5 separate regions of the Homo sapiens genome follow, and all the other regions are linked to region 1. The links are contacts of gene promoters, found by promoter capture Hi-C in human tissues and cell types (Jung and others, 2019). All regions are on one chromosome and are shown on one strand. Each heading gives the region's core, a stretch centred on a gene start or on the middle of the fragment in contact. The rest is flanking DNA. Distances are from core to core; before and after follow the strand shown.

Region 1 (5,215 bases), core at 1,618-4,117:
AGACCACCCCACTTTCCAACCCCCACTACAGACACACAAAAAGAACAGAAAAAAAAGTCTATCTCACATACCCCTTGAGTGGGTTTTGTTGTAGGTCTCTCTGCTCCCCTCCACCCCTGTGCTTCATCCTGCCCTCTCTCATACCTGCCATCTATCCTCAGCACACACGGCGCCTTTGCCACAAGTAACACCTTTGCATCCAGCACTCTCCGTGTCTATATCCGCCTCCACCTCCTCAGCTCCCGAGGGGCTGGGTTACAGAAGATGGAGTGAAAGGGGGGAATGCAGAGGGGATGGACATGGAGAGTCTTGGAAAAGGAAACTCTAACAGCTGATGGGTTGTAGGGTAAAGAGAACATGGGAGGCAGGGATAACAGGTCAAATAAGACCATAACAAATTATCAAACGGCGAGTGAATTTTCTTCCTGCATGCAAAGAAGAAATGAGGGGGAGGGCACCAGTTAAGAGTCTGAGACTTGGGGGAAGAAAATGGCCAATGGCTGAGAACTGAGTACAGACAGGAACTTCAGAAGCTGTTGCAGGTATTGTATCTTGGGCACTTCTGGACAGCACCTGAGAGAGAAAGACTAAGAAATCCCTGAAGAAATTGAGCCCAGGAGGCAGAGGTTGCAGTGAGCCCAGATCGCACCACTGCACTCCAGCCTGCGCCACAGAGTGAGACCCTGTCTCAAAAAAAAAAAAAAAAAAAAATATTCCTCGAAGAAAATTAGGCCTTTGTCAGTAGAAAAGGGCTGACACCCACTACAGGAATAGGATGGGAAAAGCTGCAGGAAGGAAGCTGTGGTTTTTAACCCCAGCTTTGCATTATAAAGAATTACCTGGGGAGCTTTAAAACTATATGCTAATAATCAGGACACTCTAGGCCAATGAGACCAATCTTTGAAGGTAAGGCCCAAGTGACTGATTTCTCAAATGTGAAGCCAGGGTAAGAAACACTGAAATACAAGAAAAGCTGAAAACCCAGTTGGAATATTTAAGGCTGGTGCTGTTAACAAGTGGGAAAGGAAAGTTGAGAGACTATTTCAGTAAGAAGAGTGCCCAAGTTTGAGAGGAATCCTGAGTGGCAGTTAGAGGGCTCTATGCAAAGAAAAGCAATAAAGAAGGCAATGCATTTGAGAGGAACTAGTCTAATTCTGAATAGAACATGGCCCAATTTAAGGAAGATTTACAGGGAATGGATCTGCTTGCAAAATAATGAGGCCCAAGTGAGAGGCAGAGGCCATAAGGCCAAATCTGGGGACAAAAGGTCTGGTGTGGGGAACTAATGAGCTTCAGACACGGTTTGGACAGGACAGCAACAAGTTTGGGGAAAAAATGAGGAAGAGAATTAGGTCCAAATTGTAAATGAAAGCCATTCTGATGTATAAGGAGCAACTAGGATTAAAAATTCCGGGGAATTAGGAAATTGTGGAACAGTTTCAGAGAACAGAGGCAGAAATATGGGATATATTAAAATTTGAGGGAGAGATAGGTGAGAAGGGTTGTCTTGGAGAAAGAGAGGCATGTAGAGAAAGGAAAATTGAGGAACTATCTGCAGGGGGAAGGATATACCATGCAAGTTTGGAAAACCAGGGTGCTCGGTCTGAGAAAGATGTGCAGCCTTTCTCTAATTAATGGGGGAAGACTAGGGTCGGGTTTTGAGGGAGGAAATTGCAAAGATCTAGTGTCCAGAATATAGAGCTTGGTTTGAAGGCACTGGAGGTACAGGGGGAAGGTTCACTGGAAGCGAGATGGCTGGGTCCTGTGATCTAATGATCCAAAGACGGGATTCAGTTAAGAGGGGAAGGAGAAGGATGAGTTCCAGCTGAGAAAAGATGTTTAGAGGGTAAGAATGTTTCCAAGAGTGTTGGGGGTATACCATTGGGGCAACAGGATGGAGCACAAGAATCAAACCTGGTGTTTGATAAATAAAAGGAATGGCGCTGGGAGACTGGGAAAATGGGGCCTAACTGGGAGAGGGGTGTGGAGAGGGGAAGGTGGGGGAAAGATGAAGCTGAAGTATGGGACCAGGAGGAAGAGGCTGGACATCTGTGTAAGGACTGCTAGGCCTGAAGAGAATGGGGGGAGGGTGATGAGTGGGGGTAAACTGAGAACTGAAGGATGGAGGTTGACTTTGCGGGGGGCAGTGATATGAGAAGAGTCTGGGTGGGGGGTGCAGTTTTCATCAGGGAGGGAATTCAAAGGGAAGGGTGAAGTGACTTATAAGGGGAGTAAGAAAGATTTGAGGAAGACAGGAAACAATTTGGGGAATCTGGATGCCGGGGAAAGCCCAGTTTGGGGAATGGGGCACAATTCGGTGGGGCTGAAAGAAAAAAGGGGACTTGCTTGGAAGGTTGGGTTCCGGCTTTTGGGGGCTTTAGGGGAGGAGAAGGCCCGGATGAGGGGGATGGGCCCGGCTGAAGAGGGGGCTAAAGGACAGAAGAAGGCCCAGTTGCAGGGCTGAGGACCGGACTAGGGTGGCTGAAGTGGTGAACGGACCTGGCTGGGGGCGGATGGCCCCGCTGCGGGGGGCGGGGGCCGGCTAGGGGTACGTGAGAGGCCCTCTGGAGCAGATGAGGGAGGATGGGGGCGGGGAGCCTGGGCCGGGCCGTTACCTGTCCTGGGTGTTTATCATCCTCGGCGGCTCTGCTCAGGGTGGGAGGAGGCGGCGCAGGGAGTGGATAGATGGATGAGTGGGTGGGTGTGGGGTCACGCGCGCGGGGTCGATCTCTGCGGGCTAAGTCCCTGTCAGGCCGCGGGCCGAGCGCCTCCTTTTGCCTCAGCGAGCGCCTGCCTCCAACTGACCCTCCCCGGCCGCCACCGCCGCCGCCGCCGCCGCCGCCCCGCCCCCGAGTGCCTCATCTGCATAGCCCCACCCCAGCGCCGCGCGGTGTCCTGGGAAACTGGGGCCCACAACAAAGGGCAAAGCACCGCCCCGCCTCCGCGCAGGCGCACCACGGACCGATCGTGGGGGTAGGGCTAGGGGGTCCGAACGAAGGGCAGGCTGTGCAGGAGGCCATGACCAAGGCGGTGGGTCTGCCCGCAGCTGCGGCAGCGCGGCCCAGAAGATGCGTTGTGTTTCCGGTAGTTTTCTGTGAGGATTGACTCAACCTGGTCCTCATCCCTATTCCTTGTTGGCGTGGGGCCGAACAGGGCTGTGCCATTTGGGAGGATATTAAAACAAAATCAGAAATCTTAAGAGAACTACACACATATTAGCACCATTCCTAGTCTGAGTCCAGGCCCACAGATCTGTTATCTCAGCTCATAATGCAGATCAATAACCTCAGCTGTCAGGGTAGATCAACAATCTCAGCATCTCGCACACATCTCATGTCAATCGTCAAGGCTGCTCCAAGCACTGGCTTAGGTCATCTGAAGCCAGAACTCTGTAGATCATGAGCACAGTCACAACAAGACAGTCGTGGAAAGCGTCGTCACTAACTTGTTCACGGTCACTTCAGATCACAATCAGTGCAAGTTACTTCAATCGATCATGCAAGGTTACTAGTTCAGTCACCTCCATTCATTATCCCTACTGGTCCTTATGACAGATTAGTGCCTGAAGGCCACAGTCACCGGTGCGCAGACCCCTCAGATCACAGTCCTTGTAGGTTACAATCACAGACACTTCAACACAATCATCAAAAGCCCCGACTCTGTTCACAGTCAACCCAGATTGCAATCAAGAGAGGTCACATTATCTCAGATCACAGTGGGTCACTCTGTCACCTCAGATTACATCCATTCAGTTATTCAACAAATAATTATTTTATTTATTTACTTATTTTTGAGATGGAGTCTCTCTCTGTGGCCCAGGCTGGAGTGCAGTGGCACAATCTCAGCTCACTGCAACCTCCACCTCCCGGGTTCAAGCGATTCTCCTGCCTCAGCCTCCTGAGTAGCTGGGATTACAGACATGTACCACCATGCCCGGCTAATTTTTGTATTTTTAGTAGAGACGAGGTTTCACCATGTTGCCCAAGCTGGTCTTGAACTCCTGACTTCAGGTGATCCACCTGCCTCGGCCTCCAAAAGTACTGGGATTACAGGCATGAGCCACCGCACCCGGCCAACAAATAATTATTGAATAGCTACTTACTGTATGCTCCAGGCATGTGCTAGAGTCCAAGAATACGCCATAATCAACCAGGCAAGGTTCCTGCCTTGGATGTCACAATCCGGTCAAGGGGAGAGACACAGGTCATCACAATACCAGGTAAGTAAGTGCTCAATCTGAGGAATGCCACAGAGAAAGTAATTTAGGGAATTAGGGACAGCTTTGCAGAAAGAGTGATAACTCAGAGAAAGGGTGACACTCCAGATCGGCGGTCACTATGACTTTCAGTTCACAAACATCTCACATTGGAGTCATCTCAGGATATGGTTACTCTCCTTCACAAACAGCATGCTTTTGGGTTTTGGATGATGGGGATGGAGGCACAGAAGGAAGGCTGGAGCTACCAAGCTAAGGCTTTTTCAACACAAATTAAAGTGGTAAATGATACCGAAACTGCCCGGATTATCACTAGATATTCAGGCAAGGCTGGTCTCATACTCTGGTTCACTTTAAGATCCTCCACTTTGTCCCTCAGCTATCCCTACCTACTCCTCCAGGTTCAAGTCAGGTATGTTCTTACATTAGTACTTAGCAAAATTGGACATTTAAACCCAGCCCTGATCTACCCCATCGCATAGTCCCAGAGACCTGGGCAATCCTCCTGGACCCTCAGAGGGAGCTGGAATGTCTCACTTCTGCCAGCCCATTCCTGGCCAAGTAACCCTTTAACCTGAAGGACAGTTTTTGACCCATGAATCAACAAATATTGAGAACTCACTATGTCAATAATAGCGACCATTTATTGAGCATCATGGGTAAAGTACTAAATTTTAGAACAGCTCTCCACCCTCGTTTTAAGGATGAAGAGAATTAAACCTCAGAGAGATTTATTCTGTCATCCAATATTTATTGAGGGTCTGTCTATACCAGACATGTTAACATGCTAGCTTTAATTCAAAGCGATTAAGTGGTATAGTTAGAATTTGGATCCCAAGTTGCCTGATCCTGTGCTTTCTCTGGATCTGCATGGTGGAAGAGTCAGAAGCTCTCTGGACAGCTTTCTGTTTAAAGGAGTGGCCACCCTGATAGCCACCTGGTCAGCAAGTGAAAAATTCACAAAAACTGAGGTCTTCAAATCTAAATTAATTAACATGA
Region 2 (5,215 bases), core at 1,277-3,776, 490 kb before region 1:
TACCTTTTAGTTACCACCAGAGAGTGAGCAGCAGATTAAGCAACCCAAACTGTTAAAACAGTCCATTCTGGCTAGGCCTGCAAAGATACAAGCTGCAAAATGCCTAGCAAACATGCCAAGTGCTTTTTATTCATCATAAAAATTAACACTTAAAATTAAGTTTCATATCAATGAACATCAGTACATACTCTCTTGGCTCCCATTCAATTTGTACCATGTCCTATAACCTCAAAAACATTTTAGAATTTATTACTAAGGTCTCCTCAAAATTAGATGGGTAAGGCTACACACATCTGTAGTGCCAGCTACTTAAGAGGCTGACGTGAGAGGATCGCTTCGGCCCAGGAGTTCGAGATAAGCCTGGGCAACATAATGAGACCTCATCCCAAAACAAAATAAAACAAAAAATCAAAGTCCCTGCATTCTGGAAGCGTATCTAAAACAAGTTGCTGGGTTTTTCTCTCCTTTTAATTGGGAAGGTGAAGATGACAAAGAACTGCAAAATAGTTAACAAAAAACTGCAACTTCATCTCAGAAAACATCCTACACATTCTTTGATTGTTAGAATCTAAGTAGTACACACCTTCGTTTCTTTATTCTTTTTTACAGACAGAGTCCTTGCTCTGTTTCCTAGGCTTGAGTGCAGTGTTGTGATCATGGCTCACTGCAGCCTCAAATTCCTGAGCCCAAGGGACCCTTCTGCCTCAGCTGAGTAGCTAGGAATATAAGTGTGTGGAACCACACTCGGCTAATTTATTTATTTTTATTTTTTGTGAAGATGGGATGTCGCTATGTTGCTCAAGCTGGTCTCAAACTCCTGGCCTCAAGCAAATCTAACATATCAGCCTCCCAAACTGCTGGGATTACCCATGTGAGCCATTGCACCCAGTCCATGCATTCATTTTGAATTTGCCAATTATGGTTTAGTCTCAGATTTCTTTTTTCTTTTTTTTTTTTTTTTGAGACAAGGTCTCGCTCTGTTGCCTAGGCTAGAGTACAGTAGCATGTTCTTGGACACTGCAGCCTCGCCCTCCTGGGCTCAAGTGATCCTCCCACCTCAGCTTCCTCACTAGCTGGGACTACAGGCATGCACCACCATCCCTGGCTACTTTTTGTATTTTTTATAGTTACTGGGTTTTGCCATGTTTCCCAGGCTGGTCTTGAACTCCTGGGCCAATCAAGCAATCAACCAGCCTTGGCCTCCCAAAGTGCTGGCACTACAGGTGTGAGCCACCACACCTGGCCCATCTCAGACATTTTATGTGTTTATTTTTCAGAATCAAGTTTAGGGCTTTATCTGAATAAACTACAGAAGCAAGACTAAGAGGCTACCTTCAACTTGATTGTGCTTTCTTTGTACAGAAAGTAAAACCCAAGAGAGCCAGAGAAAGCCACTCAGCTAACTCAAAATACAGAAGTGCAACATGTTTAACTATTGCCTTAAATTATAGGGAATTTGCATGAAAAAGAATAGTAGTCTACAGGGTAGATGAAGAAAGAAAAGGCAACTTTTTAAATAATGATTTGATGGAGGTTGTAAAAAGATGGTTACTAATGGGAAGGAGAGGTACCCTGACAGAGATAAATAACATAAAACTGAGTTGGTATACAACAATTGAAACAATCTTAAAAAGAATGAAAACAGCATGACCATCAGAATCCTTTGTCTACATGGCTTGTCTGAAGTTTGCAATAAAATATTCATAATTGAAAAAAAAAGCAGTTATACAAAAACAGTTTGTTGACACAACCTAAGGATGCACAAATGAAAAAGAGAAAAGAACAAGGAGAGTTGAGTGGAGGCCTCCCACAAAGCAGGGCAGATAGAGAAACGACTCTGCAGTTTCTCATACTGTATCACACCTACTCATTGCCTCTCCATTTTTATATCCACTTCCTGTAACAAGAAGCCCCTTGGTTATTAAAAATTCACTGGACAAATGTTTGAATTTTAAACAGTTGAGCACTAGAGGGCGAAAACTCTCCACATTTTCAATATTGATCAGGCCTACAGAAAAAAGATTTCACAGCAAAATAAATTATGAGATTAATATATTTTTAAAACTCACTGGAATAAGTAATAAAGTAACTTTTCAAATCCTGAGAACTATGAAAAAGAACTATAGAATATGGGACAATAGGAAAAATAAGGGTTCCTAAATCAGGAAGGGTACCTAAATAAGGTACCCAAAATAAGGGTACCTAAATCAGCTCAACGATTTAGGTATCTAGATCTTGGTTTATCCTTTCCACTAATTTAATCCAGTGAAATTAAGCATGGTCAAGTCACCTACTTTGGGTCTCAGTTTCCTCATCTGAAAATAAAGTGTTCAATCTGGGGAGAATTTGAAAAGTCATTTTCCAGCTCTAAAATTCTAAAATAATCTGATAACTTAAGCCTTTAGGGCCTTTCAGGAAAAAAATAAGAGTGAAAACCAGAGCATGCTTTATTTTCATACGACTTTGAACACTCCACACTTGTCCAATTCATTATTTCTACATGCCCTCATTTTTTCATGCAGCATATTTTCATTTTCAAAGAAGAAAGGTTTCCAATACCAGTGAGACCAGCAGGACACAAAATTCTTCAATTCTTCTGATTGGTTGAAAGGTGTGCTTTCATCCAATCAGAAAGATGTGCTTGGTTTACATGCATAACATCCCTGATTTTAGGTTAAATATATTTGTTGAAGGCAGGGAGCAAGGTAACCCAGTGTTCTCACCCTAATTTCAACCATTAAATAATATAAATTGGGCTTCTCAGTAAAAGCTTAATCAGTGGGAAGGTGGCTACTATGGTCTGGATTTCTGTCCTTCCCCCGGACCCCCCAACACACACAAACCTCACGTTGAAATTTGATCCCAATGTTCGAAGCTGGGCCAAATGGAAGGTGTTTGGGTCATGGGGGTATATCCCTCATTAACTGATTAACGACCTCCCTTAGGGATGAGTTCCCAAGAAAGCAGGTTGGTGAGAAGAGCCTAGCACCCCCCTTCCCATGTGATCTGCACATGCTGGCTGCTCCCCTTCCCCTTACACCATGAGTGGAAGCAGCATGAGGCCCCTGAGGCCCTCACCAGATGCAGATGCCAGTGCCATGCTTCTTGTACAGCCTGCAGAACCCTGAGCCAAATTTAAAGGTCTTTTCTTTATAAAATGACCCAGCCTCAGGTATTCCTTTATAGCAACACAAAATGGACTAAGTAAGTGTGGCTACTCTGATGTGGCAACTAATGCAAGGTTTAGGAGGCTTCTTCTCTTGTCCTCCTCCTCTGTAAAATTAAGAAGTGATTTTCTCAAAGCCATTTGAAAATACACATCTCAGTCATTTCTTCTTTGCAACACAAAAAAATGCAACACATTTAAAAACCAATAGCATTAGAGTTCCTACAAAAACTTCTATCGTTTGAGGCATGGGAAAGAGTTTAAAAAGCAGTGACAACTTTCTTTATGTATTCTCTGTAATGCAGAGAGCACAAAATATGATGACAGGTTAGATTTGACCTGAAAAACTCTGGTACTCAGTAAGCCAAGTCTGGGGGTAAACTCAAAAGTCCCGGCAGGAATGGCAGTACACCAAGAGATGAAACAGACTGATGCACAGTAGATGCTTAAAACAGATTTTGTTGAATAAATAATAATCGGGATAATTACAATATGGACTGATATTACTATTATCAGGCATTATGCTAAACATTTTACATACATTATCTCATAGAACCATATATTACAGGCATAATTATCATACCCATTTTATACATGAGATAACCGAGGCTGAGGGAAGAAGGTTATTGGATCAAAATTACATAGCTATTAAGAAAGAGCGCCAGGATTTGCATCCTTTTTCTTAACCACTACTCTGTATCTTATACAAACATAACATGAACACCCATCCCTTGTCTGTTCTTGTCTTTCCTCTTAAGAACAATAAAATTAGTACACAAATGGCTGAGCCCAGGAAGTGGGCATTAAAACAACTTCTAGAGTTTGTCAGTTAAACCACATAATCTTAAGTTTATTATTTAAGATACAGTTTTTGTTTCCTTGTAAAATGGAAAATTACTTGTCATTGTGAAGGAAGAAGGGGATGCTGAGCACTATGCAAGAGACCTATGTCAGACATGGTGCTTTCACATATATTATCCATTCAACCCTCAAAATATCCCTGTGAAGCATTACCCTCATTTTACAGAGGAGTTTCAGTGAGATTAAGTAACTTGTCCAAAGTAACGCTGATAGTAAGTACCAGAGGACCTCTAGTCTAATTTTAAAGTATTACATTTACTTAAGTGAGGATTTCCATGTGGTTACTGAAAAAATCTTGATAACATCATAATTTCAAATCGAATTGTATCATACTACTTTGTAATGCCATTTTTTACTCTTCACTATCACTTGAATTCCTCAGGTGAATAACCTGTGTAGTTTACTCAATGAGGGAACTTAGTAGATATTACATTAGTCTTTAAAATACTTATTAATGTGCAGGCCAGGCATGGTGGCTCACATCTATAATCCCAGTGTGTTGGGAGGCTGAGGCAACAGGATCTCTTGAAACCAGGAGTTTGAGACCCGCCTGGGGAACACAGTGAGACTCTATCTCTATAAAAAAATTTAGAAGTTAGCTGGGCATGATGGCATGCGCCTGTAACCCTAGCTACTGAGGCTGAGAAAGATCTCTCCAGCTCAGGTGACTGAGGTTATAGTGAGCTATGATCACACTGCTGCACTCCAGCCTGAGTGAGAGTGAGATTCTGTCTCTAAAAATAAAATAAATATGCTGGGCACGGTGGCTCACACCTGTAATCCCAGCACTTTGGGAGGCCGAGGCAGGCAGATCACTTAAGGCCAGGAGTTCAAGACCAGCCTGGCCAACATGGTGAAATCCCGTCTCTATTAAAAGGACAAAAATTAGCCAGGTGTGGTGATGCATGCCTGTAATCCCAGCTACTCGGGAGGCTGAGGCAGGAGAATTGCTTGAACCCGCGAGGCAGAGGTTGCAGTGAGCCGAAATCGTGCCACTGCACTCCAGCCTGGGTGATAGAGCGAGACTACATCTCAAAAAAATAAATAAAATAAAATACATCTTAGTGTGCAATAGTTCACTAATATTTAAGAATATTTTATAATTATTTCTGCCTAGGAGTATGGAATCTGAGAATATTCTGCTTGTCTACTCTCTAGAATGTTGATTTTCAAACATGTTTTTTTCAA
Region 3 (5,215 bases), core at 819-3,318, 450 kb before region 1:
TTTTGTAGAGATAGGATCTTACTATGCTGCCTAGGCTGGTCCCAAATTCCTGGGCTCAAGCAATCCTCCCACTTCAGCCACCCAAAGTGCTGTGGGATTATAGGCATAAGCCACTGCACCTGGCTTATATTATTTTAATGGTTTGAGTATTGCCCTGTATGTGGATATGTATTTATGTATGTATGTATACACACCCTCCCCATAATTTTTGGACACGTGAACTGTTTTCATTTTCCAATATTATGAACAATGCTTTTAGGAACATCCTTATGTATATTTCTTTTTAAACTATTGAGAATTAAAGATTGTAAATGCAATTAAAATATGTAACTTCAATCAATGTGGTGTTCAAGTTTCCAAAAATGGAGTTTTCTAAAAACCTCAGAGATAAAGCAGCCAAACAACCATACTTTGCTCTATACCAATTGAGCAACTGGCTGGCTGATTATTCTAAACTGACAGTGTACTGGGCAACTGGCTAACAAGAAAACCAAACATTACCCTAAACACATTATAATCTCTCTTTAAAACCTCAACAGTAGCTGACATGGTGGCTCATGTCTGCCAACCCAGCACTTTCAGAGGCTGAGGCAGGAGGATCACTGGAGACCAGGAGTTTAAGACCAGCCTGGGCAACACAGCAAAACCTCATCTTTACAAATAAATAAATAAAATAGGACGGGCATGGTGGCTCATGCCTGTAATCCCAGCACTTTGGGAGGCTGAGACGGCAGAACTGTTTGAGCCCAGGGGTTCGAGACCAGCCTGGGCAACATAGGGAGACCTTGTCTCTACCAAAAATTAAAAAATTAGCCTGGCAGGGAGGCACGCTCCTGTAGTCCCAGCTACTCAGGAGGATGAGGTGGGAGGATTGCTTGAGTCCCAGAGATCAAGACTGCAGGGAGCTGTGATTGTGCCACTGTACTCCAGCCTGGGCGACAGAGTGAGACCTTGTCTCAATCAATCAATAAATAAAATAAAGCTCAACATCTGCACACCCATTAGGATGGCTATTATCAAAAACAGAAAAATAACAAGTGTTGATGAGGATGTGGAGAAACTGGAACCCTTGTGCACTGCTGATGGGAATGCAAAATGGTGCGACCGCTCTGGAAAATGGCATGGCAATTTTTCAAAAAATTAAAGACAGAATCATTATGATTTACAATTCTATTTCTGGATAGATGCTCCAAAGAAGTGAAAGCAGGAACTCAGATTTATTTGTACATCCATGTTTATAGCATTATTATGCACAATAACTAAAAGGTGGAAGCGACCTAAGTGTGCATAATTGGATGAATGGATAAACAAAATTGGGTATATACATAGGGTGAAGTATTATTCAACCTTAAAAAGGAAATTCTGACACATGCTACAACACGGGCAAACCTTGAGGACATCATGCTCAGTGAAATAAGCCAGTTACAACGGACAAATATTGAATGAGTCTACTTAATATTAAGTACCCAGTAGCCAGGCGCGGTGGCTCACGCCTGTAATCCTAGCACTTTGGGAGGCTGAGGCGGGTGGATTGCCTGAGCTCAGGAGTTCGAGACCAGCCTGGACAACACGGTGAAACCCCGTCTCTACTAAAATACAAAAAATGAGCCAGGAGTGTCAGCGTGCGCCTGTAGTCCCAGCTACTCAGGAGGCTGAGGCAGGAGAATTGCTTGAACCCGGCAGGTGGATACTGCAGCAAGCCTAGATCGCACCACTGCACTCCAGCCTGGGCGACAGAGCAAGACTCCGTCTCCAAAAAAACAAACAATAAAAAAAATTAAGTATCTAGTGTAGTCAAATTCATAGAGACAGACAGAATGGTGGTTGCCAAGGGGTTGGGGGGAGGGGAGAATGAGGAGTTAGTGTTTAACAGATACAAAATTTCAGTTAGGGAAGATGAAAAAGTTCTGGAGATGGATGGTGGTGATGGTTGTACACCAATGTAAATGTACTTAATGCCATTGAACTTTTTTTTTTTTTTTTTGAGACGGAGTTTCACTCTTGTTGCCCAGGCTGGAGTGCAATGGCATGATATTGGCTCACCACGACCTCTGCCTCCTGGTTCAGCGATTTTCCTGCCTCAGCCTCCCAAGTAGCTGGGATTACAGGTATGCACCACCACACCTGGCTAATTTTTGTATTTTTAGTAGAGATGGGGTTTCTGCATGTTGGTCAGGCTGGTACCAAACCCCTGACCTCAGGTGATCCGCCTGCCTTGGCCTCCCAAAGTGCTGGGATTACAGGTGTGAGCCACTGCACCTGGCCAATGCCACTGCACTTTAAAAAACTGTTATAATGGTAAATTCTGGATATCATCTCTTATTAGATAATATTATTTTCTCCTATTCCTTTCCATGGGTTGCCCTTTTTAGAATTCTGTTGACAGTGTGCAAAAGTTTTAAATTTTGCTGAAGTCCAACTTAGCTAGTTTTTTTCTTTTGTTGTCTGTGATTTTGGTGTCATATCCAAGAAATCACTGCCAAATCCAATGTCATGAAGCTTTTCCCATGTGTATTCTAGTAAAATATTATAGTTTCAATCTTACATTTAGGTCTTTGATCCACTCTGAATTAATTGTTGAATACAATGTAAAGTAAGAATCCAACTTCACTGTTATGTGGGTATCCAGTTTTTCTGGCATCATTTGTTGAAAAGACTGTCCTTTCCCCCAATGAGTAGTTATTTGTCCTTTTTTTCTTTTTTCTTTTGAGATGGAATCTTACTCTGTCACCCAGGCTGGAGTGCAATGGCACAATCTCAGCTCACTGCAACCTCCACCTCCCGGGTTCAAGCAATTCTTCTGCCTCAGCCTCCCAAGTAGCTGAGACTACAGATGCACACCACCACACTCGGCTAATTTTTGTATTTTTAGTAGAGACGAGGTTTTACCATATTGGCCAGGCTGGTCGCAAACTCCTGACCTCGTAATCCACCCACCTCAGCCTCCCAAAGTCCTGAGATTACAGGCATGAGCCACCACACCCCGCCTATTTGTCTTATGTTTAAGACAGACTCCAAGGAAGGAGATTCCATAACTTCCCTCGACAATTCATGCTGATGTTGAACAAGTTTCATGGTTTGGAACACTTTTATATTATACTCAAATCTCACTACTGAAACTTAAGCCTATTTTTCTTAAGTCCTCAGCAAAAAAATAAAAAAGCTCCTCAATAACCACGAATACTATTAAGTAGCTCTCTTCAAATAACAAAACTTACTTTTCTCAGGCTTTCCTAGACTTTCTTTTCTTAGGCAAAGTAATTTCAAATTCCTTTCACCTTTCCTCATTGGTCCTAGTTTTTAATTCTTTGATCATCTTTGAAGGCTCTTTCCTGAATCCACTTGAAGTTTTCTGCATTTTTCTTAAGATATAGAATCCATTAATCAAAGAATTCAGAAGTTTCTCCGAAGTTGTCTAGTCTATCCCTCTGCTTCTAGGAAGATTTTCTCTAAATCAATTCAGGCCAGACTGGAATGTTTGTATCTGTAGGAAGCGCTATGAAGAAAGAACTCATACCCTTGTTTGAGTATAAAATCAGCAATCATTAGAGTTGGACTTCAAGTGTCTCAAGACTTTCAGTAAAAAGAAAAGTACATAAGACTAATTATACTGTAGAGTCCCTTTCTTATTTATCTCTTCAGATAGAGAGGTATCATATCACTCTTATGTCTCCATCTGGTTGCAGATATTCCACTGAATCACTATCAAAGCAGCCAGGTATAGAATTTTTCCATTAGCAAAATAACTAAGAATTCACAAGGAACCAAACAGAAACAGTGATGACAAATCAACATGGAACTAGAAGTCGATCAAAACACTAGAAAAGGGACTATTCTTTCCAGAGAAATCGCTTTTGGATTCTGACAAACCACAGAGGCAATGAATTTTAAAAACCACACATCCTTCCTCAAATATTATACTCTCAATCTTCATGCTGGAAAGCATAATAGAAAATATTCAATCTGACGTTGGGTAGCCAAGCTAGTAAATTAAAAATGCAAAACTCCATAGAGTTCAAGGGTTGAAAGGCATACACATCACATATATTCAGACATGAGGGTCTTATTATGAAGACTGAGAGAATTACACACTTCAGCCAACTCCTTAGCACATGGCCATAGCCTGCTCAGCCAATTGGGCTTCAAGGTGCTTTTCTGGAAGCACTATAAGTAGAAGGCATTGCAAAACTCAGTCTACAGACTACAGAAGGCAGCAATATTAGCAGCACAGGAGATTTTTTTTTAAACCCAACTGTTAGAAAACCTCTGTTAAAAAGAACCCTAGAAATGTGGGTGATGGATAAAGGAGGGGCTCATTACACTATTTTGTTTACTTTGTGTACGATTTTTTTAAAGGTTTTTAGAAATCTAAGAAATCTAAGAAAAAAGAGTCCACAATGAAGATCCAAACAAAGTACAACAGAAACAGCAGCAGCAGAGCTTCCTTGCATTTCTGTGCCAGATGCTGATTACATTTCCATAGAGGGCTGTGCATTTGCCAGAATATTTACCATATTCTGGAAAACATATGCCTGCCTAAAATCCTAAACAAACAGCAGACAGCTACCTTATAGGAGTGTAGTGCTTAAGGCAAATTGACCATTACAATCCAAAGAGCTCAATTACTGCCTTCATATCTTCCTTTGGAGAACAGAAGCCCAAAAGCAAGAATGAAAGCCTGTAGACAAAACTGTTATCCTCTAAAATGGCTTTGAGACTTATTTGAAAGAGAAATGCGGTACTGAGTCACACCATACTAGATTGTAAGAGTTCCATTTTTAGCTTTAAATAGTGGCCATACAAAGCAGAATAAAAGTTTTTAAAAAGGAAATGAAATGTAACGATCAATCATGTCAACAATATGTTATGTAAGCTTATCTATACAGGTTGATTGGTATAACCTGGCAGAAGAAATCAAGATGAAAGAACTGTCCCTAACAGAAAGCCTAACAAATATGTAGTAATGTAGCAAATTTTTAAAGTGTTTTAGGAAGTGCTTTGTTCTCTTAGAAGTCCCAAATAATCAAAGATTATTCCAACTTATCAGAATAATAAAACAGAAAAAGTAAAAAAAGCAGGTGTACTAGAGAACACTTTTAAGAATAACCAAATTCCTATAAATTAAAAAATATGGTTAATATTATTTTTTTGAGACAGGGTATCACTCTGTCACCCAGGCTGAGTGCAGAGGTGCAAGCAATCTCAGCTCACTGCA
Region 4 (5,215 bases), core at 1,240-3,739, 330 kb after region 1:
GTTCCTAGCGAGCCACTCCATGTACTGCCATCGCCTGCCTGTGGTTGTATCAGATGCCCGCAAGGAGGTGCTGCCCACCAGCCTGTCCCGTCACTGAGCGTGACGGATAGTCCGTTTGCTCCAGTACCTCTGACAGAATCTGCCCTCTGTGTTGTTACTGCCCTGTGTGGTCCAGTAGATGTCACTCCCTAACCTGTCCAGCCTCTCTGTAAATCAGGGCCGGGGATGAAAGGCCACACACAGCAGTGTGGGTCCACAGGACTCTCCTTGATAAGGAGAGAGACTGGAGAGGTTAAGGGACATCTAAGGGGTATCAGGAACCCCAGGAAGCGAAGCCAGATATACCACAGGTAGGAGAAGCAGCCTAACAATATGGACGTTTCCTCATTGCTGCTGAGGGGCATCCTAGAAAACCAAGAGAATATTTCAAAGTACACTTAAAGAGATCAAATATTAAAAACTTTAGTTCCCAGCCCTTTACCCCCAGCAAAAATGCTAGACAGTGTTAACAAAGCTGTATGTTGTTAACAGGAGGAAAGACTAGTTAGTAAAATAGCTACAGCTGTGGCCAGTTCTTGTTCTTGGACACCTATGTTTATATCGGAAAACACTTTTTGATGCTGTTCTCTGAAATCAGGCTCCACATATGGAGTGATAAAACAGAAATCCTTTTTTAAACAAAACCGCCTTTGCTACTTCCTAGACAGCCACTAGATAGCACCACAGCCTTGCTTCCTCACCCTTTACCCTCACGTGGGACTCAAAGAAGAGCGATTGCATGCAATTGATTAGCTCCATAGTTTCTAATCAGCTGCTCACTAGCATGCTTCCTTTATTTACCAGGTTCAGAATATGGGAAAGAGAGGCTGAAGCTACCCCAAGGAAGTTTTGTATAGATTGTTATTGTGAATATATATCATGTATCCTGTGTGGGGTGGTAGCATATTTCTGTTTGTATGTAAGGGCTATCAATAAATACACTTCTAAGAAAATTTTTCCTAGAAGTGTAATAATTTGGTTGGTTGGAGATGCTTGTGGTATCCTCTTTACATTTTACAATATAGATTATCATTCTCTGGAGATTTGCCAAAACCTTCAGGTCTATAATACATCCCTCTGTGGGGGATAATGATCATCTCAGTCCTTATGTAACAGTTATAGAAAGGCTCATTTGCTTATATCCTGCTCTCCTGTGGGAATCCTACTTGCCTCCAATCTGATGTAGCTGACTCTGTAATAAATTAAACCAGAGCTACCCAGTCTTATCATTAACAGGTGCTTTCTGCTTGCTCCTCACACTTGGCCTAAAGGCCCTTGTATATAAGTCAGAGATCTTGGCTTCTGGAAGAAATATCAAAATAAAATTTACAGCCTTGGGGGTAGGGGCTGAAGGGGCTGTACCAGGCACTTTTTTTTTTTTTTTTTTTTTTTTTGAGACAGAGTCTTGCTCTGTCACCCAGGGTAAAGTGCCGGGACGTGATCTCGGTTCACTGCAGCCTCGACCTCCCAGGCTCAGGTGATCCGCCCGCCTCAGCCTTCCAACTATAGGCACGCGCCACCATGCCCAGCTAATTTTTTTTTGTAGAGACAGGGTTTTGCCATGTTGCCGAGGCTGGTCTCGAGCTCCTGGGCTCAAGCAATCCTCCTGCTTTGGCCTCCCAAAATGCTGGGATTACAGGCTGCACCACTGCGCCCGGCCAAAATGCACATCCTCTTTACAGGGGAAATTCCCTACTGTAGATAGCTTTGCTTGAATGAGCTCAACTACAGTGCGAATGCTGGGGCTTATTGTGTTGACTGTACGGTCACCACGGTTGCCGCATCCCGAGGACATGGTCACTTCCTTGACTACCTATCTTGCCTCAAGTTGAACATTTGAATTGTTCCCACTTGTTGGCTATGATGAATAATGCTACCGTGAACATTCATGTGCAAGCTTTTGTGTGGAAATATGTTTCCACCCGCTGGGCACGGTGGCTCACACCTGTAATCCCAAAACTTTGGGAGGCCGAGGCGGGCGATCACTTGAGGTCAGGAGTTCAAGACCAGCCTGGCCTACATGGTGAAACCCCATCTCTACTAAAAACACAAAAATTAATCGGGAGTGGTGGTGCATGCCTGTAGTACCAGCTACTCAGGAGGCCGAGGCAGGAGAATTGCTTGCACCCGGGAGGCAGAGGTTGCAGTGAGCCAAGATCAAGCCACTGCACTTCAGCCTGGGCAACCAAGTAAGACTCTGTCTCAAAAAAAAAAAAGAAATATGTTTCCAATTCTCTTGGGTATATACCTAAAAGTAGAATTGCTGAGTCCCACTCTATGTTTTATTTTTTATTTATTTATTTTTTATTTTTTTGAGACTGAGTCTTGCTCTGTCACCCAGGCCAGACTGCAGTGGCGCGATCTTGGCTCACTGCAAGCTCCGCCTCCCGGGTTCATGCCATTCTCCTGCCTCAGCCTCCCGAGTAGCTGGGACTACAGGTGCCCGCCACCACACCCGGCTAATTTTTTTCTATTTTTAGTAGAGACGGGGTTTCACCATGTTAGCTAGGATGGTCTCGATCTCCTGACCTCGTGATCTGCCTGCCTTGGCCTCCCAAAGTGCTGGGATTACAGGCGTGAACCACTGCGCCCGGCCTCTATGTTTTAATTCTTAGAAGTGACAAGCTGTTTTCCAAAGTGGCTACACCGTTTTACATTCCCACCAGCAGTGAGTGACAGTGTACCATCATATAACTACTGATACTGCAGGGAGTAAACTCAGGAGTTCAGGCCTCTTTGTGTGAACTGATTTTGCCGCTGCACATGGATACCTGGCACATTGTACCAGAGCGCTTACATCTCAGGATTGCCGGGGTGCCTTTGTCTAGAAGCAGATAATTCTGCAAATGTGGACTGCTGACCCAGGATCCACCTATGGAGAATTCATTATGTAGAACTGAATGAAACCAATGATGAAACTCAGATTGTGTTTTGAAATGTTGTCGGTATTTTTTTTTATGTTCTATGTTCTGCTAGGCATATGAAAAACATCTCTTTAGTCCTTTATGTTCCATCTCTAACTCTCAATTTAGCGGGCTTTAAATGTTCAAACTGAAAGGCACTTTCACCACACATAGTTAAAGGAACTACCCTAAATCTCCCTGATTATTAGCTTTGTGAGTCTTACCTTGGTTGCTATATTATTTCAGAGGACCCCTCAAAATTCATGAAATGAATAATATTGTATACTTTAGATCATCCAGTTTTCAGAAATGAGAGACTAAATGCCTCAGAATACCTACCCACATTGCCAAACCCCCTTAGAATCCAAGATGTATTAAATGTTCTGTCTAGGAGGTCAAGACTGTAGAAAATCTTTTTTTTTTTTTTTTTTTTTTTTTTTTTTTTTTTTTTTTTTTGAGACGGAGTGTCTTAACTCTGTCGTCCAGGCTGGAGTGCAGTGGCACGATCTTGCCTCACCGCAACCTCCGCCTCCCGGGTTCAAGCAAGCAATTCTCCCACCTCAGCCTCCTGGGTAGCTAGGATTACAGGCACCCACCACCATGCCCGGCTAATTTTTGTATTTTTAGTAGAGACAGGGTTTCTCCATGTTGGCCAGGCTGGTCTCAAACTCCTGACCTCAGGTGATCCACCTGCCTTGGCTTCTCAAAGTGCTGGGATTATAGGCATAAGCCACCGCACCTGGCCAGAAAACCTTAAATGGAAAATTTAATCCAAATGGATAAATTAATATACAGGTAAATTTAAGGATGATGCCTCCAAAAAGTGCAATTTGTTGTAAAATGGGTTATGCTTAGCAAAACAAAAATTTCCTTAAATTTTTGTTTTCTTATTATAACTATAGTATGCCTGCAAATAATCAAGCCAGGCATGGTGGCTCACACCTATAATCCCAACACTTTGGGAGGTCAAGACAGAAGATAACTGGACGCCAGGAGTTTGACAGCAGCCTGGGCAAGACCCTATCTCTACAAAATTTTAAAAATTAGCCAAGTGTAGTGGTGCACGCCTATGGTCCTAGCTACTCGGGAGGCTGAGGTGGGAGAATCGCTTGAGCCCAGGAGATTGAGGCTGCCATGAGCCATGATCATGCCACTCCAACCTAGGCAACAGAGTCAGATCTTGTCTTAAAAAAAAAATTAAAAAAAAAAAAAAGAGTGCTTACTTGCCTGTGAATGGGAGGGACAAAACTGAGACAAATTAACACACAATTCTTACTTACCAAGTTGTTTGACATTCCTCAAACACATTGTTGAACAATATGTCTGTAAAATGAAACTGTTCATAGTGCTGTGTCTGAGAATGATTAAACTTTAAGCACCTCCTATAGATAGACTTTGATTTTATTCTACTCTTGGACTCTGGTTTAGTAGGGGACTGAAGAAAATTTTTGGTTATACTATAACCAGGAGCAAGAGGTCAAAGACATAGAAATAATTAAGGATTATGAATAAGGGTCAGCAACATAGATAGTCTCAAATGCTATCGATAAGATGAAAGGGATTAAGGTGGTGGCTGCAGAATATCTTTCCTTGGAGAAAGTACATATTGTACTTGTTTTTACTGTTTCACACCAGTTTTTGCCAAACTTCCTATACTTTGCAAATATTCTTGAAATGCTTCCAACAAAACATGTGTCTGATGAAAAAGACTTTGATCATGGACATCCTTTTACTTTGGTATAAAGATGACTTCCCTTTGAACACCTGTCACTCCTCTCAACCATCCTATTACAGATGAAGGCCTCAAGTCAGTGCTTCACTGGAAATAATTTTGGACTTACTTCCCCTACCTTTTGCAAAAATATCCCTCACTAATTCCACTATTTGTTTTTTTTTCCTCTTCTGGGTTTAACATAAAAATTAGCCCCTAGAAGAAATATGTGGTTCCGTTGGTACCATAATTTAACCACTCCTCTGATCCTCGATATTTGTATTTTTGTTTCAAAAAAAATTTGTATTTTTTTTTGTTGTTGTTGTTTTTCTGAGACAGAGTCTCACTCTGTCGCCCAGGCTGGAGTGCAATGGCACGATCTTGGCTCACTGCAACCTCTGCCTCTCAGGTTCAAGTGATTCTCCCGCCTCAGCCTCCTGAGTAGCTGGGATTATAGGCACCCACCATCATGCCCGGCTAATTTCTTTTGTATTTTCGTAGAGATGGGGTTTCACCATGTTGGCCAGGCTGGTCTTGAACTCCTGACCTCAGGTGATCTGCC
Region 5 (5,215 bases), core at 1,081-3,580, 270 kb before region 1:
TTTGCTGGAAGAAAAGTAAGCAATTTTTAAAACTTTAAAAAAAAAAGAGTATCCAAGCAACATAGATCTTCAGGAAGATTCCAAGTATCACTTCGTTTGTGGAAATCATCAGCTTCTATCACCAATGAATTGTCTGTGAGTCTGAGAGATGAGAAATTAGAAAATGAAGGATTTAATAGTCAGTATTCAAACCAGGCACTGGAATTCAAAATGCAGTCCACAAATTCTCTTTTAAAATATGTGAAAATGTCCTGTCTGTTGTACTGAGAAAATCTGCCAATATATAGACCTCAAAATATTCCGATAACAGCCCTCACGATGAGGGCTGTTATCTGAGACTCAACAAGAAGAAAAATTGTTATGTTACTAACAACTAGCTTAACCCTGGACAATTCATTAAAATCACAGCTCACTTGAGTGAGATATAGGGAATGTAGTTTTGGAATTCTCTTGAAGACTGGAACATTGACAGGCTGGGCACGGTGGCTCACGCCTGTAATCCCAGCACTTTGGGAGGCGGAGGCTGGTGGATCATGAGGTCAGGAGTTCAAGACCAGCCTGGCCAACATGGTGAAACCCTGTCTCTACTAAAAATACAAAAAAAAATTAGCTGGGTGTGGTAGTGGGTGCCCGTAATCCCAGCTACTTGGGAGGCTGAGGCAGGAGAATCACTTGAACCCGGGAGGCAGAGGTTGCAGTGAGCAGAGATTGCACCACTGCACTCCAGCCTGGGCAACAGCGTGAGACTCCATCTCAAATTAAAAAAAAAAACAAAACTGGAACATTGACTAGAGTTTCTAGATCAAAACAGACTGTCTTTAGGGTTATTTGCAGTCTGGGTATTAAGTACCCACTTAAATGGTTTCAGAAACCATTTATATTATATATATATATATATTTTTTTTATCCAAAGAGCATTGTGTTTTCTTTTTTTTTTTTTTTTTTTTTTTTGAGACGGAGTCGTACTCTGTCGTCCAGGGTGGTGGAGTGCAGTGGAGTGATCTTGGCTCACTGCAACCTCTGCCTCCTAGGTTCGAGCAATTCTCCTGCCTCAGCCTCCTGAGTAGCTGGGATTGCAGGTACGCACCACCACGCCCGGCTAATTTTTGTATTTTTAGTAGAGACAGGGTTTCACCATGTTGGCCAGGCTAGTCTTGAACTCTTGACCTCGTGATCCGCCTGCCTCGGCCTCCCAAAGTGCTGGGATTACAGGCATGAGCCACCATGCCTGGCTGAGCATTATGTTTTCTGTTGTACTTATCCTGAAGAGAGATGGGAAATATTACCACTTTTCCATGTATTTAGTGTTTTGGTTTTCATCTGAAAATAAACATGAAATTCTTAAGATTTTCATATATATTTATTCATTAATAAATACTTGAGCCAGGCGCAGTGGTTTACGCCTGTAATCCCACCGCTTTGGGAGACCGATGCAGGCGGATCACTCAAGGTCAGGCTCTTGAGACCAGCTTGACCAGCTTGGTGACCATCTCTACTAAAAATACAAAAATTAGCTGGGCATGGTGGCGCACCCCTGTAATCCCAGCTACTTGGGTCACTGAGGCAGGAGAATCACTTGATCCTGGGAGGCAGAGGTTACGGTGAGCCGAGATTGCGCCACTGCACTCCAGCCTGGGTGACAGAGCAAGACTCTGTCTGAAAAATAAATAAATAAATACAGCCGGGCGTGGTGACTCACACCTTTAATCCCAGCAGCTTGGGAGGCCAAGATGGGCGGATCACAAGGTCAGGAGATCAAGACTATCCTGGCTAACATGGTGAAACCCCTTCTCTACTAAAAATACAAAAAATTAGCTGGGCGTCGTGGCATGCGCCTGTAATCCCAGCTACTCGGGAGGCTGAGGCAGGAGAATCTCTTGAACCCGGGAGGTGGAGGTTGTAGTGAGCCAAGATTGCGCCACTGTACTCCAGCCTGGGCAACAGAGCAAGACTCCATCTCAAAAATAAATAAAAATAAATAAATAAATAAATAAATAAACACTTGAGAGCCTATTATAAATCAGGCACTGTTCTAAACACTAAGAGAAACAAAAGGATGAATCAACTGTAGATTCTGTCCTCAGATGTTTGAAAGACTTCTAGGTAGATATGTATATAAACCAAATATAAAATAAAAAGTGAACCTAACTGTCTTAAAAGAAGTAAAGACTGTCTCTGAGAAAAATAAAGGAGGGAAAGCTTGCTTCTAGCTGGGAAGGATCCCAAAAGACTTTATTTAAAAAGATGGTTTTGAATTAGCTTTGAAGGATAGTAATGAAATCTATCACTTTTTGATCAGTTATTATGTGCCACATTCATCATGCTATTTTCTAATCCTTATAATAATTCCAAGCAGGGTGTCATTTCCCCTCCTTTAGGGATGAAATATCATCCCTAAAGTGTCAAGAGAGTTCAAATAACTTGTGTAATGTCCAGGGTGAGGAGTTCGAGACCAGCCTGGTCAACATAATGAAACCTCATCTCTACTAAAAATACAAAAAAAATTAGCCAGGCGTGGTGATGTGCACCTGTAATCCCAGCCACTTGGGAGGCTGAGGCAGGAGAATCACATGAACCCAGGAGGCAGAGGCTGCAGTCAGCTGAGATCGCACCATTGCACTCCAGCCCAGGCAACAGTGCGAGACTCCATCTCAAAAAATAAATAAAAAATAACTTATGTAATGTCAGTTAATGGTAGAGTTATGATTTTGCTGTTCAAGTGTTTCTACTGAGATGGTAGAAAAGCATATTACAAGGATGAGGAGTAATGGGAGCAAAGGCACAGAGGTGAAGTTATCGGCCTCTATGGAGAATAATGGCAAACCAGTTCATTGAAAGAAGAGTGTGAGTATAGAGCAAGCTTGTCCAAGCTGTGGCCCGTGGGATGCATGTGGTCCAGGACGGCTTTGAATGAGACCAAACACAAATTTGTAAACTTTCTTAAAACATGAGATTTTTTGTGTGTGATTTTTTTTTTTAAAGCTCATCAGTTATCGTTAGTGTATTTTATGTGTGGCCCAGGACAATTCTTCCAGCGTGGCCCAGAGAAGCCAAAAGATTGAATACCCCTGGTATAGAGGAATAAGCAGCAAACAAAAAATGAAATGGGGAGTCTCTCTGAAACTAATCTGCTTCTGGGACTGCCCAATTAAAAAAAAATTAAAAAGGGCTGGGCACAGTGGCTCACACCTGTAATCCCAGCACTTTGGAAGGCCGAGGCAGGTGGATCACCTGAGGTTAGGAGTTCGAGACCAGCCAGACCAACATGGAAAAACCCCGTCTCTACTAGAAATATAAAATTAGCTGGGCGTGGTGGCGCATGCCTGTAATCCCAGCTACTCAGGAGGCTGAGGCAGGAGAATCACTTCAACCCAGGAGGCAGAGGCTGCAGTGAGTCGAGATTGTGCCATTGCACTCCAGCCTGGGCAACAAGAGTGAAACTCCGTCTCAAGAAAAAAAAAAAAAAAATGAAAAGGTAGGTTTGTTCAGATGATAGATAGTTTTGAATGATAGGCATTCAAATCTATCAAATGATAGACATATCAGTTGTGGGATGGGAAAGAGTGTTTTGAAGTTTTTTTGAGGCATTAACATGATCTGAGGCTTGCTTGAGGGAAAACTAATTTGGCAGAAATGTGGAAGATGGAGTGGAGATATTCTGAAGATGGGAAGACCAGTGAGAAGACAGTTGTAGTCCAGGATAGAGATGTTTGAAAAATATGTTCTAGGATAATGCCAATGAAATGAGGCAAGACAGGAACAATGATGCAAGGGGCTTTATGTAGGTAGAATCAATTACTGGATATGATGCCTTCATTTTACCTTTAAGTAAACCAAGGCTTAGAGAAAGTGGTCTATTTGATCTAGAAAGAATATGCTGTAGTGTCGCTATCTACTTGGAATCTGTTCAGGACTCCTTGGTTTGTCATCTAGTCTACCATGTAAACCAAGTGGCAACTTATCTTCTAATTTAAGATATTATTGGCCAGGCATGGTGGCTCACGCCTGTAATCCCAGCACTTTGGGTGGCTCAGGTGGGCAGGTCACTTGAGCCCAGGAGTTCGAGATGAGCCTGGGCAACCTGGTGAAACCCCGTCTCTACAAAAAATACAAAAATTAGCTGGGCATGGTGGCATGCACCTGTAAACCCAACTACTAAGGAGGCCGAGGTGGGAGGATCCCTTGAGCCGGGGAGGCAAGGGTTGCAGTGAGCAGATTGCATCAGTGCACTCCAGCCTGAGTGACAGAGTGAGACCCCATCTCAAAAAAAAAAAAAAAAAAAAAAAAGATGCCGGGTGCAGTGGCTCACGCCTGTAATCCCAGCACTTTGGGAGGCCATGGCGGGCAGATCACGAGGTCAGGAGTTCAAGACCAGCCTGGTCAATGTGATGAAACCCCATCTCTGCTAAAAAAAATACAAAAAAAATCTGCCGGGCGTGGTGGCATGTGCCTGTAATCCCAGCTACTCGGAAGGGTGAGGCAGGAGAATCCTTGGAACCTGGGTGGCGGAGGTTGCAGTGAGCCGAGATCGCGCCACTGCATTCCAACCTGGGCGACAGAGTGAGACTCTGTCTCAAAAAAAAAAAAAAAAATATTATTATTGCTTAGGATATTATATAATCATACATTCATTAAGTATTTATTAACTATCTGTCATGTGCCAGGCACTGTGTTAAATACTAAGGATCCAGAGTTTTAACAACATTATTCCATCCCCTCTAGATCTTTAAGTATACTAGATGAAACTGAGACAAGAAAACCCAACCATAATAACTATCACATGAATAGTGGAATACACTAAGGAAGGGACCCAACTGTTAACTTTGCATGGCTGGAAGTGGGATGGGAGGGGGAGTGTAAAGGAAGCTTCTTAAAAAAAAAAAAAAAAAAAAAGACAAGTCCTGCAGAAGCAATGCTTCCTGGAATACCATAATGGTAGATTGAAAAAAAAAAAAAACCTGAAGAAAGTAAAATTTATATTTTCTTCAATAAACCATTCTACATCATGTCACCATGCCCTTGTCCACTAGGACAGCTCCTGCTCATCCTTTAAAACATCTCAGGCTGGGCGGGGTGGCTCACACCTGTAATCCCAGCATTTTGGGAGGCCGACGCATTTGGATCACCTGAGGTCAGGAGTTCGAGACCAGCCTGACCAACATGATGAAACCCTGTCTCTACTAAAAATACAAAAATTAACCGGGTGTGGTGACAT

Evidence for each region. The method cuts DNA at HindIII sites, captures the fragments that hold promoters and counts their contacts. A contact is called where the count stands out against the background at its distance.
Region 2: a contact is called between a fragment that was not itself captured here and the fragment with the promoter of OAZ2 in region 1, in 1 of the 25 tissues and cell types used here (lymphoblastoid cells).
Region 3: a contact is called between a fragment that was not itself captured here and the fragment with the promoter of OAZ2 in region 1, in 1 of the 25 tissues and cell types used here (dorsolateral prefrontal cortex).
Region 4: a fragment that was not itself captured here is called in contact with the fragment with the promoter of OAZ2 in region 1 in 1 of the 25 tissues and cell types used here (mesenchymal stem cells).
Region 5: a fragment that was not itself captured here is called in contact with the fragment with the promoter of OAZ2 in region 1 in 3 of the 25 tissues and cell types used here (dorsolateral prefrontal cortex, mesenchymal stem cells and spleen).

What each region holds. Positions count from the first base shown.
Region 1 is chr15:64,700,414-64,705,628 of GRCh38, forward strand. It overlaps OAZ2 (ornithine decarboxylase antizyme 2), which reads right to left and starts at 2,868. Exons shown (of 5, transcript NM_002537.3): 1 at 2,616-2,868. The coding sequence starts at 2,635. LOC124903507 (a long non-coding RNA gene) reads left to right here and starts at 4,130. Exons shown (of 3, transcript XR_007064679.1): 1 at 4,130-4,219. RefSeq lists an enhancer at 1-825 and silencers at 2,454-2,673, 2,684-3,003. The HindIII fragment of the contact is 8,869 bases long and covers 1-5,215 here.
Region 2 is chr15:64,207,945-64,213,159 of GRCh38, forward strand. The region is part of intron 6 of CSNK1G1 (casein kinase 1 gamma 1); the gene reads right to left. Among named protein-coding and RNA genes, the nearest start is that of PPIB, 48 kb to the left of the region's middle. The HindIII fragment of the contact is 4,963 bases long and covers 46-5,008 here.
Region 3 is chr15:64,252,387-64,257,601 of GRCh38, forward strand. All of the region lies in intron 3 of CSNK1G1 (casein kinase 1 gamma 1), which reads right to left. Among named protein-coding and RNA genes, the nearest start is that of PPIB, 92 kb to the left of the region's middle. The HindIII fragment of the contact is 3,236 bases long and covers 451-3,686 here.
Region 4 is chr15:65,033,153-65,038,367 of GRCh38, forward strand. No RefSeq gene overlaps it. Among named protein-coding and RNA genes, the nearest start is that of MTFMT, 6.1 kb to the left of the region's middle. RefSeq lists an enhancer at 174-253. The HindIII fragment of the contact is 4,917 bases long and covers 32-4,948 here.
Region 5 is chr15:64,430,951-64,436,165 of GRCh38, forward strand. All of the region lies in intron 11 of TRIP4 (thyroid hormone receptor interactor 4), which reads left to right. Among named protein-coding and RNA genes, the nearest start is that of ZNF609, 27 kb to the right of the region's middle. RefSeq lists an enhancer at 1-87. The HindIII fragment of the contact is 3,066 bases long and covers 798-3,863 here.